Regions from separate parts of the Homo sapiens genome. Here all the other regions are linked to region 2. Evidence: promoter capture Hi-C in human tissues and cell types (Jung and others, 2019). All regions are on one chromosome and are shown on one strand. The core of a region is centred on a gene start or on the middle of the fragment in contact, and the rest is flanking DNA. Distances in the headings are between cores, read along the strand shown.

The links. Contacts are between HindIII fragments. The study calls those that stand out against the background at their distance.
Region 1: a contact is called between a fragment that was not itself captured here and the fragment with the promoter of NGRN in region 2, in 3 of the 25 tissues and cell types used here (IMR-90 fibroblasts, bladder and lymphoblastoid cells).
Region 3: a contact is called between a fragment that was not itself captured here and the fragment with the promoter of NGRN in region 2, in 1 of the 25 tissues and cell types used here (hippocampus).

The regions. Positions count from the first base shown.
Region 1 is chr15:90,502,875-90,506,839 of GRCh38, reverse strand. No RefSeq gene overlaps it. Among named protein-coding and RNA genes, the nearest start is that of CRTC3, 25 kb to the left of the region's middle. The HindIII fragment of the contact is 5,406 bases long and covers 1-3,965 here.
Region 2 is chr15:90,264,408-90,268,344 of GRCh38, reverse strand. NGRN (neugrin, neurite outgrowth associated) reads right to left here and starts at 2,673. Exons shown (of 3, transcript NM_001033088.3): 1 at 2,469-2,673; 2 at 1,947-2,057. The coding sequence starts at 2,632. It overlaps TTLL13 (tubulin tyrosine ligase like 13), which reads right to left. Exons shown (of 15, transcript NM_001396017.1): 15 at 2,868-3,625. The coding sequence ends at 3,378. It also overlaps a transcript of CIB1 not described here. RefSeq lists enhancers at 1,719-2,689, 2,483-2,712, 3,073-3,202, 2,690-3,661. The HindIII fragment of the contact is 14,519 bases long and covers 1-3,937 here.
Region 3 is chr15:90,480,427-90,484,634 of GRCh38, reverse strand. It overlaps IQGAP1 (IQ motif containing GTPase activating protein 1), which reads right to left. Exons shown (of 38, transcript NM_003870.4): 27 at 2,535-2,675; 28 at 2,354-2,438; 29 at 1,042-1,274; 30 at 283-415. Among named protein-coding and RNA genes, the nearest start is that of CRTC3, 47 kb to the left of the region's middle. The HindIII fragment of the contact is 5,949 bases long and covers 1-4,208 here.

The DNA of each region.
Region 1 (3,965 bases), core at 212-2,711, 240 kb before region 2:
TTAAGTCCTTATCTGTAAGAGCAGCGTCTCACCCCAGGCATTATTAATATTTGAGGCTGGATCATTCTTGGTTGCAGTGGGCTGTCCTGTTGCACTGAAAGATGTCAAGTGGCATCCCTCACCTCTACCCACTAGATGCCAGTAGCACCTCTTTCGTCAGGCCAATTAAAAATATTTCCAAACAGCCAAATATCTTCTGTGATTAAAAAAAAAAAAAACTGTGTTAGAGACATGTACTGCAGTATTTATGGTTGAAATGATACTATACCTGGGTTTTGTCAAAGTAACCCAAGAGGGTTTGGGCAGAGGTACAGGTGAAATAAGCTTAACTGTGTGTTGATAATTGCTGGGCTGCATGATGGACACATGGGTGCTCATTACATTATTCCCCGTTTATATGTTGAAAGTTCCCTGCAATAAAAGTTAAAAAATTATAGTACCAAAGGAGTATTAAAATATTTCTGTTTTCCCAAGCGTATTAACATATTGGATTAAATAAGCTATCTTTAAGTTAAAGAGTTATGAGTATAGGCTGGCGCCGCGGCTCATGCCTGTAATCCCAGCACTTTGGGAGGCCGAGGCGGGCAGATCACGAGGTCAGGAGATAGAGACCATCCTGGCCAACATGGTGAAACACCATCTCTACTAAAAATACAAAAATTAGCTGGGCGTGGTGGCGGGCATCTGTAATCCCAGCAACTCTGGAGGCTGAGGCAGGAGAATGGCTTGAACCCGGGAGGCAGACATTGCAGTGAGCCGAGATCACGCCACTGCACTCCCGCCTGGCGACAGAGCGAGACTCCATCTCAAAAAAAAAAAAAAGAAAAAAAGAGTTATAATTGGGTTACTTTAAAAGTCTTGGTAAATCCCCTTGTCTACTTCCCAAGTCCTGAGAAAGTGAATAATGTTTGCATGCATAATAAATTCTCCAAATTAGGTAATTATCTTTTTTTAACTTTTGCTTTCAACAAAGTTGGAGAACCTATTCATGTTATAACTTATTATAAATCATTGAGTCTTTTGGATTAGTTACTAAGGAGTCCTGAGAAATGTGTGACACTGCTGTAATGAAACACCCCAATGTTTCTCGGAGCTTACAGTTATAAAAATGAAAAATAGAAATAGAATTGGTCATGAGCCCCATCTCATTCTAGCAAGAATATTTGTCTACCATGTTTTTAAACTTTCATTTTAAAAGACTTTCATTTATCTCATCAATAAATGCATTTCATTAGATACCAATGACAAAATAAAAAAATGCATTTCAAATATCTTTTAGAATTGTCAAGATAAAATATTACATTACTGGGCCGGGTGCGGTGGCTCACACCTGTAATCACAGCACTTTGGGAGGCCGAGGTGGGCGGATCACGAGGTCAGGAGTTCGAGACCAGCCTAGCCAAGAGACCAGCCTGGCCAGTACGGTGAAACCTCATCTCTACTAAAAATACAAAAATTAGCCAGGCGTGGTGGAGGGCTCCTGTAATCCCAGCTACTCGGGTGGCTGAGGCAGGACAATTGCTTGAACCTGGGAGGCGGAGGTTGTGGTGAGCCAAGATTGTACTCCAGCCTGGGCGACAGAGCAAGACTCCAACTCAAAAAAAAAAAAAAAAAAAAAATTACTGCAATCAAATATGCACTAATAACTGTAACTATGCAAAATGTTTTTCTAGATTGGGTTAATAGGCTTATGGTCACGAAAACAAATTTTTATTTTTGTTACAGATGACCAAAAATAAGATGTCCTTTAAAATATTTCACTAGGGTAAAATTCTGAAGGAAGCAGAGTAGAGAAAAAAAACGTTAAATTTGTAAAGATTTAAAATTTCCAGGGGCAGGCATAGTGGTTCACACCTGTAATCCCAGCACTTTGGGAGGCCGAGGTGGGCGGATCACTTGAGGTCAGGAGTTTGAGACCTGCCTAACATGGTGAAATTCCGTCTCTACTAAAAACACAAAAAATTAGCCAGGTGTGGTGGCAGCCGCCTGTAGTCCCAGCTACTCAGGAGGCTGAGGCAGGAGAATCGCTTGAACCTGGGAAGTGGAGGTTGCAGTGAGCCGAGAACACGCCACTGCACTCCAGCCTGGGCGACAGAGCAAGACTTCTGTCTCAAACAAAAATAAATAAAATAAAATAAAAAAGAAATAAAAAAGAAATTTCCAACTAAGAGCTTTGTTCATGTACCTTTAAAAATGAATGAAGGTGGGTTCCATTCGATATTTTTATGGTCATTTTTATATTAAAATTCACATGCTAGCAGGTACTCTTGATTTAAACATTAAAAATGTATTTGTCAAACTTAAAATGTGTGAAGGGATGTATACGTTTTCCCAAATTATTTTCAGGGATACACAGGCAAAAGAATGAGCAGCAGGGCTGTGACAACCCCGTCTCCCTCCCCGTTGGTGCAGTGGCACCACCAGCAGCAGCTGGGACTCCATGGCATTCACTCTGCCATTGCTCTGGGTTCCATCTTACTTTCCTACTTTTTTTTCTTTTTGTTTTTTGTGAGACAGGGTGTTGCTGTTACTCAGGATGGAGTGCAGTGGTGCAATCATGGCTTACCACAAGCCTCAACCTCCTAGGCTCAAGCAATCCTTCCGCCTCAGCCTCTTAAGTAGTTGGGACTACAGGTGCGCACCACCACGCGGGCTAATTTTTGTATCTTTGGTAGAAACAGGGTTTCAACATGTTGGCCAGGCTTGTCTCCAACTTCTGATCTCAAGCGATCCACCCGCCTTGGCTTCCCAAAGCGCTGGGATTACAGGTGTGAGCCACCACGTCCAGCCCCTACTCTGATTTTCCCTCTTATTTTTCTTATTTAATGTTGCTATACCTTGATAAGCTTTTTTTTTTTGAGATGGAGTCTCGCTCTGTTGCCCAGGTTGGAGTGCAGTGGCACGATCTCAGCTTACTGCAAGCTCCACCTCCCGGGTTCATGCCATTCTTCTGCCTCAGCCTCCTGAGTAGCTGCGACTACAGGCACCCATTACCAAGCCCAGCTGATTTTTTGCATTTTTAGTAGAGATGGGGTTTCACCGTGTTACCCAGGATGGTCTCGATCTCTTGACCTCGTGATCTCCCTGCCTCGGCCTCCCAAAGTGCTGGGATTACAGGTGTGAGCCACCGTGCCCGGCCGATAAGCACTTTTCTTTTTTTTTTTTTTTTTTGAGACAGAGTCTCGCTCTGTCCCCCAGGCTGGAGTGCAGTGGCATGATCTCGGCTCACTGCAGCCTCTGTCTCCCAGGTTCAAGCGATTCTCCTGCCTCATTCTCCTGAGTAGCTGGGACTACAGGCATGCGCCACCACGCCCAGCTAATTTTTTTTGTAGTTTTTAGTAGAGACAGGGTTTCACCATCTTGGCCAGGATGGTCTCGATCTCCAGACCTTGTGATCCACCCGCCTTGGCCTCCCAAAGTGCTGGGATTACAGGCATGAGCCACTGCACCCAGTCCTGATAAGCACTTTTCTAACTCCCTTGATTTCTTTGCAGGACAATATAGAGCATATTATTAAAATATTTCAGGTTTCAATAACAAAGCTACCAGACAGCATCCTTTCCATTTCAGAACGAGAAACCTGGGGCTCAGAAGGGTACCTTCCAGAGTCCCACCAGGAGAGCCATGCTCTTCCCCTCACTCTTCCTCAGAGGAGCATGCGGTCATCTCCAACCACTCGTACAAACCATCACCTCCAATTTTTCATTTTCCCTATTTTAGAATTATTCCGTTTCCCCCCTTATTTCAACCTGTCACTAATTTTCCAATATAGTCTGGCCACAGTTTACCAACACAACAGGATGCTTATGTACATGTTTGTATTTTTAAGTAAGGCTGCCCTCTGACAAGGAAGCCTTTTCTTTTCTTTTTGAGATGGAGTCTCGCTCTGTCTCCCAGGCTGGACAGCAGTGGTGTGATCTTGGCTCACTGCAACCTCCGCCTCCAGCTTCAAGTGATTCTCCTAC
Region 2 (3,937 bases), core at 1,424-3,923:
GGTGGAAGGTTTGAAAAAGCTATTGTTGAAGACAGGAGATAGAGGCCGGCATGGTGGCTCATGCCTGTAATCCCAGCACTTTGGGAGGCCGAGGTGGGTGGATCACCTGAGGTCAGGGGTTTGAGACCAGCCTGGCCAACATGGTGAAACTCTGTCTCTACTAAAAATACAAAAATTAGCCAGGTGTGGTGGTGCACGCCTGTAATCCCAGCTACTTGGGAGGCTGAGGTCCAAGAATCTCTTGAACCTGGAGGCAGAGGCTGCAGTGAGCTGAGATTTCGCCACTGCACTCTGGCCTGGGCGACAGAGTGAGACTGCCTCAAACAAAAAACAAACAAACAAACGAAAAAAAGAGGAGCTAGACCTGACTGAGGACTCAGAAGGTGCTACAGGCTCACAAAATCTTGAGCAGCTCTACAGAATCCCCTTTATTTTAAATTTCAATTCCAGAGTCATTCTGATGGAAATGAAAAATAGTACATAATCTATGTAGGGCTACTTAGCAATATTTATCAAATTGCAAATGCATTTGTCTTTTGACCTGGCAACCTTACTTCTGGGAATGTATATAACAAATATTCCTGGCAGGTATGCAGAATGATACACATACGTAGTTATTCACTGGGGCACTATTAGTGAGCAACAGAAATGGAAACAACCCAACTAAATGCCCACAATAAAAGACAGGTTAAATAATGCATTCTGGCCAGGCATGGTGGCTTACGCCTCTAATCCCAGCACTTTGGGAGGCCGAGATGGGAAGATCAGTTGAGGCCAGAAGTTTGAGACCAGCCTGGTCATCATAGTGAGACCCCCATCTCTGTCAAATAAATAAATAGGAGAAAAAATTGTTTAAATAAAAATTAAAAACCACTGTCATATACTGCCTCATATACTGCCTCAAAAAAATATAATAACACCATCTATAAAAAAAGAATTGAGGGCCAGGCGCAGTGGCTCACTCAGGGCACAGAGCCTAGTTTTTGGTAGAGAAAAACTATTAAAAATAGTACAGCTGCACACAGTGGCTCATGCCTGTAATCCCAACACTTTAGGAGGCTGAGGTGGGATGATCGCTTGAGCCCTGGGAATTGGAGACTAGCATGGGCAACATGATGAGGCTATCTCTACAAAAAATAAACAAAATTAACCAAGCATGGTGGCATGCACCTGTAGTCCCAGCTACTTGGGAGGACGAAGTGGGAGGATGGCTTGGGCCCAGGAGGTAGAGGCTGCAGTGACCGGTGATCACATCATTGTACTCCAGCCTTGGCGACAGAGTGAGACCCCCAACTACCAAAAAAAAAAAAAAAAAGTACCCACAGGAGAGTGGGTGGGACAAATAATTCTCAATGTGTATACCATGTTATACTGTTAGGTTGAGCCATATGTAATACTTTACCTACTCAAAACAAAAAAACTTAAAAACTCTTTTAAGCTTTCCTAAATTATAGATCCTGTCTTCAGAAAAATGCACCTACCTATGGAAGCACCAGCATCCCTGTACCTTAGGTTGGGAACGTCACAACCTACATTCAAGGGTTAAATGTTGTGATGTCTGCGATTTACTATTTAAAAATTTCAGTAAAAATGAACCAACCACGTCATAACGTTAAAAACTATTAAAACCAGGCGGGGCGCAGTGGCTCATGCCTGTAATCCCAGCACTCTGAGAGGCCGAGGCGGGAGAATCACTTGAGGTCTGGAGTTCGAGGCGATAGCGAAACCCCGTCTCTTTAAAAAACAAAACAAAACACTATTAAATCTAGATAATGACAGGGTTAGGGAAGTTCGTTATATTACTCTACTTTTCTGATAATAAATTTCAACGACAAAAAGTAAACGAAAATATAAAAGCAGTATCAAAAAAGCCAAACCCGTTTCTGGGCTCCAGCATCCTTCACTTCTCATCACAGCGGATACAAACAAGGTATCCTGAGTCTCACCGTATCTGCTCCATGGCTTCCCACGTCAGGGTCCTGGGCGGGGCACCAGGCGCCTCCATTTGCCTCCGAATTTTCTGGAATCGGATTGCTTGTTTCTGTCGTTTCAGGGTGCTGGGGGAAGAGAACCAATGGCAGAAGCCATGCGTGGAAGCAGAATGGATGTTTGAAGAGCCTCAGGCTAAATCATGGAGCGCCCAGCCCTCTTCTCTTTGATCGCAAGGGCAACCGGGCCATGTTGCCGGCTTAGAGCTGCTCCGTACACCCAGAAAGCTAACACCTAGAACAATAACTGCCTGTAAGCATGCCGAACTCTCTAAACTGATGATGAAATACGTCACTAATGAAGGGACCAGTGGTCCCAGGGGAGCTGAACACCTGACGCTGCGCCCCTAACAACGGGTAAGAAGAAACAAGGGCCGCTGCGCAAGCAGCGGCAGGACACCCGGCGCCAAGGGGGCGCGGCCTGGAGCGCCGGGGCACGAGGCCCTGCTTCAAGCTGAGGGCCCGGGGAGAAGCCGGTACCTCTCCACCTCCTGCAGCTCCCGTTCCTCCGGCTCCCAGTCGGAATCGGGGTCCGGCTCCCGGCCAATAGGGCCTGGGCCCGCCACCCCCCGGGTCGCGAACCCACAGCGAGTGACGGCGGCGCAAACGCGCCCGCCCAGCAAGAGACTCAGGGTAACCGCCATGTCGACGCAAACCAGCCTTCAGCAGTCGGCTACGAAACAGCAGCGGAAGTAGCCGGGTAAGACCGGAAGTGGAAGGGGCGGGCCGGAGGCTGGGTAGTAGCAAGTTATTTCCCGCTTCACTTGGTGGGGGTAAGATCTGGGCTCACGCTGCTCAGTGGCCCACCCTTTCTGCCTGTAACTGTGGAGAGGGCTTCCCTGAAACGTGAGGGCCGAAATGAGGTACAGGACGCTCCTGGAAAACTGCATAAACTTTAATTAAAGTACGGATTCCGTTTCCAAGAGCCGTCCCTCCGCCCCAGCGGCTGCCCAGGCCTGCCTGTCTCCGCCACCTCGGTGGGCAGGGCTTCCGCTCGGCAGTCTTCTGACGGCGACAGCCCAGTGCCTTGGGCACTCGGCTTCTCTGGGAAAGGGGCTCATTGTCTCCTGGATGGCCTCCAGCCCCGGGCCGCACCTAGGGTTCAGACCCATCACCTAGCGATAAACCCAGGCTAAGGCTTGATGAGCAGAAATGAGTACATGGCTGGCCTTGGCGCCTCTTCATCTTCTAGTCTTTACCGATCCCCAATTAATCTTAGGGTATTGAGGAATTCTTGGTGTCTTTGTATTTTGCCTTATACAAATGGGGTTCCTGGGCAGGGCTTTTCAAAGTGGAACTTGGTGGCAGTCATTCATTTAGCAAAGATTTAATGCCCTTTGGAAACCTGGGGAGGTTATCCAGGAGAGGTAGAGTGCTTCCCTCCTGCTTTTACCTGAACTGATTGATGTTGAGGAGTGCTCTGGAACGCTGCAGCATGGGTGCAGACGCAGGGCAGAGGGGAACCTTGGCTGCTCTGTGTTCAGAGTTTACCATGGAGGGCAAGGTGCATTCAGTCCATGAGTCAGATGCCACTCTTTCCGGTTGCAGAAAATAGCCCTGCTTTGGGGTTAAAGTGGGTGGCACTGATCCTGCCAGGACTCGGTTTATGGCTTCTAGCCTTCTGCTGGCTTGTCCTTCTGCAGTGGAAACATGGATGTCCCTGAGTTGGTATTCACAGAAGAGATTTGTTCACCTCTTTCCCAACTGTGGCCCAATTACCAACACAGAGGAAGGGCATCTCATGCTTCCCTCCACTGTCTTTCCCACACTGTATTGTAATTGGTATGGTATGTCTTTTTGTCCATGTTCCTATTACCTCTTGAGTGCTGGGACTGTATTTCTGCCATTTCTATCACCAGGGTCTAGTGTACAGAAAGGATTAAATAGGCCTGGTGCGGTGGCTTACACCTGTAATCCTAGCACTTTGGGAGACTGATTCAGGTGGATCA
Region 3 (4,208 bases), core at 1,232-3,731, 220 kb before region 2:
CGGGAGGCTGAGGCAGGAGAATGGTGTGAACCCAGGAGGTGGAGCTTGCAGTGAGCCGAGATCGCGCCACTGCACTCCAGCCTGGGCAACACAGTGAGACTCTGTCTCAAAAAATAAATAAATAAACAAAAAAGAATAACAAGCAAAAAAAGAGACATCAAGGAGATGCATTGTCAGTTAGATTACAGGAAGGTTAGACACCTGGCTACCAGAGATGATAAGCAGCAGCCAGGGATAATAATTAAGGACAATGAAATTAAGTAATTAAAGAAAAATACTTACAGTGTGGGTGTTGATGATTTCACCAATGGAAATGTAGATTACTGGTTTGGTGAGGGTTACTAAATCAGAGTACTCATCCACATTAAATTTATCCTGAAGCTCTGGGACATCACAAGCAGTTTGGAAAAACCGTCTGAAATAAGCACAGGAGGCAGCCCCCCAAAAAGGGACATACACATGAAGTTGGCAAGAGGACATTTCACAAACCTCTCACACAATGAGTGCAAACAGAAGCCAGTCAACAGTTACTTCAAGAGAAAGTGCTGTGTGTTTGCTGTGCTTGACAACCTTGGGATAGTGGTTCGAATAACTTCTTTCTCCACCTAGTTTGTAGTTTTAGTTTTACCCATAAGAACCATTGCACCATGACTTAAAAGTTTCCAGACACCATTAGGAGAACCAATTCTATCTCTAAGACAGTGCTCTGAAGCACTGAATTCAAAACTAGATGTTAATTTACAAAAATTAAAAGCATTCTCCAATTCTTCTCTGATTACAAGGTAACATGTACTAAATGCATAATCATCATTATTTTTATGTTAACTACTATCTATTTCATAAGTGTTAACTACTATCTATTTCATATGAAAATTCTCTTCAAAGTAAATGGATCATCTTCTGGAATCCTGGGCACATCAAACACGTCTTCTACATATGGCAGTCCGGGGAAAGTGAGAGGTGGTTTTTAATCTTATTTTTCCCCTCAACAATAAAAATACATCCACAGACTCTCTTAAGCACTTGTGCCTTTCCCCTTACCTGAATTTCTGGTAGGACTGGGAAAGATATTCATTAATGATGCTTAAGTGGGCATTATCTCCCAGAAACATCTTATTGGAAGCAGCATGCTGAAGCATTTTTGCAATGGAGCCCAGATTTCGGCGTTGGTCTGTGGTAAGCTGGCCTCCTGCTGACAGGTCAATGATGTCAAAGGCATCAGGAGCAACAATGGCTGGATTCATGTATCGATAATAAAGCAAGTTACCAATAATCTGGAACAGACGAAACAGAAAGATGGGTATTAAAAGACATACCACCAAGGAAGCTATAAATGACTTTGCTAGCAAAGAAAAGCAGAAAATGCAGTCCTATGAGGAAAAAATAAATAAAAAATACATATACACACGCATGCATGCACATATACACACTCTCTCTCATGGCCTGGAACTAAATGAAATATCCCTTTGTTCAATACAGGAAAACAATGAGAACAGAACTGAAAACTACTGCCAGTAGTTAATGAAAGAGCAGATTCAGAAGGTAAAAATGACACACTTAAAGTCTGTTATTAAGTATTTCAGGGCATCTTTTGTTCACATATCATGGTAGCAAATAAGGCTGCTGTCACCCACATGCACTTTGTACTTTCATGTAGATGGGCTTTCCTTATAAAAAGCTAACAAACATAGCTAAATTCCTTAACATGACCCAATCAGCATAGAGTAACCCCACCTCCCAACATTCTCATGCTGCAGACTTCAAAGGCCAAGTTCATGCCTCTGAAATTAAATTCACTTAACACACATCTCTTCCACAGAAGAATTCAGGGGCAGTCACAGCATTTCCCCTAGAGTTTCATTCAGAAGAAATAAAATTAATTCACCTGAACAGAAAGTCTAGAATCGAGGCCTCACTGTAGGAAAGCACAGAACTAGGAGAGAGAAGAAAAAAGCATTCAGATTAAAAAAAAAAAGAAAAGAGAAGAGCATAGCTGAGTAAGAAAGAGTTATCAGCAACAGCCTTAGCAGAAACAACTGTGCCTGCTACTATTCGCCAGGTCACCAGCAGAGGGAACAATACTACAGCGAAAAGATAGGACTCAAAGAAACTCATCTGAAAACAGGAAAAATCCATCTTTCTACTTGTTTGATGTTTGTGTGCCAAACTATAGGAAGTGTTTCATCCTAAGAGAGGTACCATTTACCAATTACAATTGCTTTCAAAAGCTCACAATCAATGGTAAGCTACTGCCAGAACCTACACTTAGGCAGTTAGTAATGATCTATGGTCAGCCCTGGTTTTATTGCTTTGTCCTCAAAGGGCAGGAGTCTGCCGGCTATGAGATTCTTACCTTCAGCAGCTCATCCTCACCAGCATCAGGGAACTTCTCATGCAACGAGTCCTTCAGCACTTTGGCAATGAAGCGCATCCCATAACTGCGGGATGGACAAAACTTAGTGAGAAGGGCCAAGGAGCAGAAAGGCACTTAGTGCTGGGTTCTACTGGGGGTCATGACAACTGATGGCACTCACGGGATTTTGTCCACAGAGCTGACAATGGCTGAGAGAAACTTGTCTGTCACAGCCCGCATGTTCCTGATGGAGCTGTCTAGCCGTGTCTTCACTTCTTCATGAGCTAGCGCCTGCTCAGGGGTCACATCATAGGGCAGTTTGCTGGGAAGACAGAAATTATACCCAACTATGTTAGACTAACAGCCAGGAACAGCCTGAAGCAAGTGTCTTATCTTTCATAAACTATAAGACCCAGAAATATTAGATAGCTTAAGCTCATCCTCACGGGGCTGGTAAGTGATAAGTCTAGAATCTGAACGCAGGTTTTTAACTGTGAATCAGGTGCCTGAATTGTGTGCCAGGCACAATAACAGGCACTTGGGAATAAAAGTTATACAAGACATGACACCTTCTCTTCAGTCTTTTACAGTCTGGTGGGAGCGACACACAAACAGATGATTATAAACCTATTGTGCTGTAAATCAGTTCACCAAAAGTGCCACAGGACCATAGGGAAAGGGCTTCAACTCAGAATGGAAAAAGCAAGGAAAGCTTCCAAAACGAAGGGATGCTTGAACTCAGGAAAAAAGGAGAGGAAGAGTCTTCTAGGAAGGAAGGGGAGACAGGAGAAATGACAGTGGAAAAGCAGACAGGGAGCAGGCCATGACAGACCCCGTATATGATACTGACAAATCTGGACTTTGTTAGAAACCAGAAGGAGGTCTTCAAGGATAGGAGTGCTATGCCAGGCACAGCAGCACATGCTAGCATTCCCAGCTACTAGGAAGGCTGAGGTGGGAGGACTGCTTGAGCAAGACCTTGTCTTAAAAAAAAAAAAAAAAAAAAAAAAAAGAGGCAGAGAGAGCTTTGGTACACACAGAAGGGGAAGAGAAGGCAATGTGACCACAAAGGCAGAGGCTGGAACCACACAGCCACAAGTTGAGGGATGTCAACAGTCACCACAAGCTCTAAGAGTCAAGAAACAGAGTTTCCACTAGAGCCTCTGCAGGGAGCGTGGCTCTTCCAGCACCTCGACTTCATGATAATGGTTTCAAATTTCTGGCCTCCACAATTGTGAGACCATGACTTTCGGTTGTTTTAAGCCACCCAATTTGAGGTGATTTGTTATGGCAGCCTTAGAAAATACAAGTAGAGGCCGGGTGTGGTGGCTCACGCCTGTCATCCTAGCACTTTGGGAGGCCGAGGCGGGTGGATCACCTGAGGTCAGGAGTTTGAGACCAGCCTGGCCAACATGGAGAAACCCCATCTTTACTATAAATACAAAAATTAGCCAGGCGTGTGGCGCATGCCTGTAATCCCAGCTATTCGGGAGGCTGAGGCAGCAGAATCGCTTGAACCAGGGAGGCAGAGGTTGCAGTGAGCTGAGATTACACCATTGCACTCCAGCCTGACCAACAGAACGAGACTCTGTCTCAACCACAACAACAAAAAGAAAAATACAAGTAGATAGGGATACCCCTCTTCATTTGTCATAGCATGGCTAAATTAAAATTGGTAGACTATGAACACAAAAATTCTGCAAAAATCAACAGAAACATTCTATGAGAAATAAATAAATACATGGAACTTAACAATAAAGAATATTGTATATTTTATTATTTATATGAGTTTTAAAAGTAGTAACCAGCAAGGGAATCAATATGCTAAAAAACGTTGGTGATAGAACAGAACATT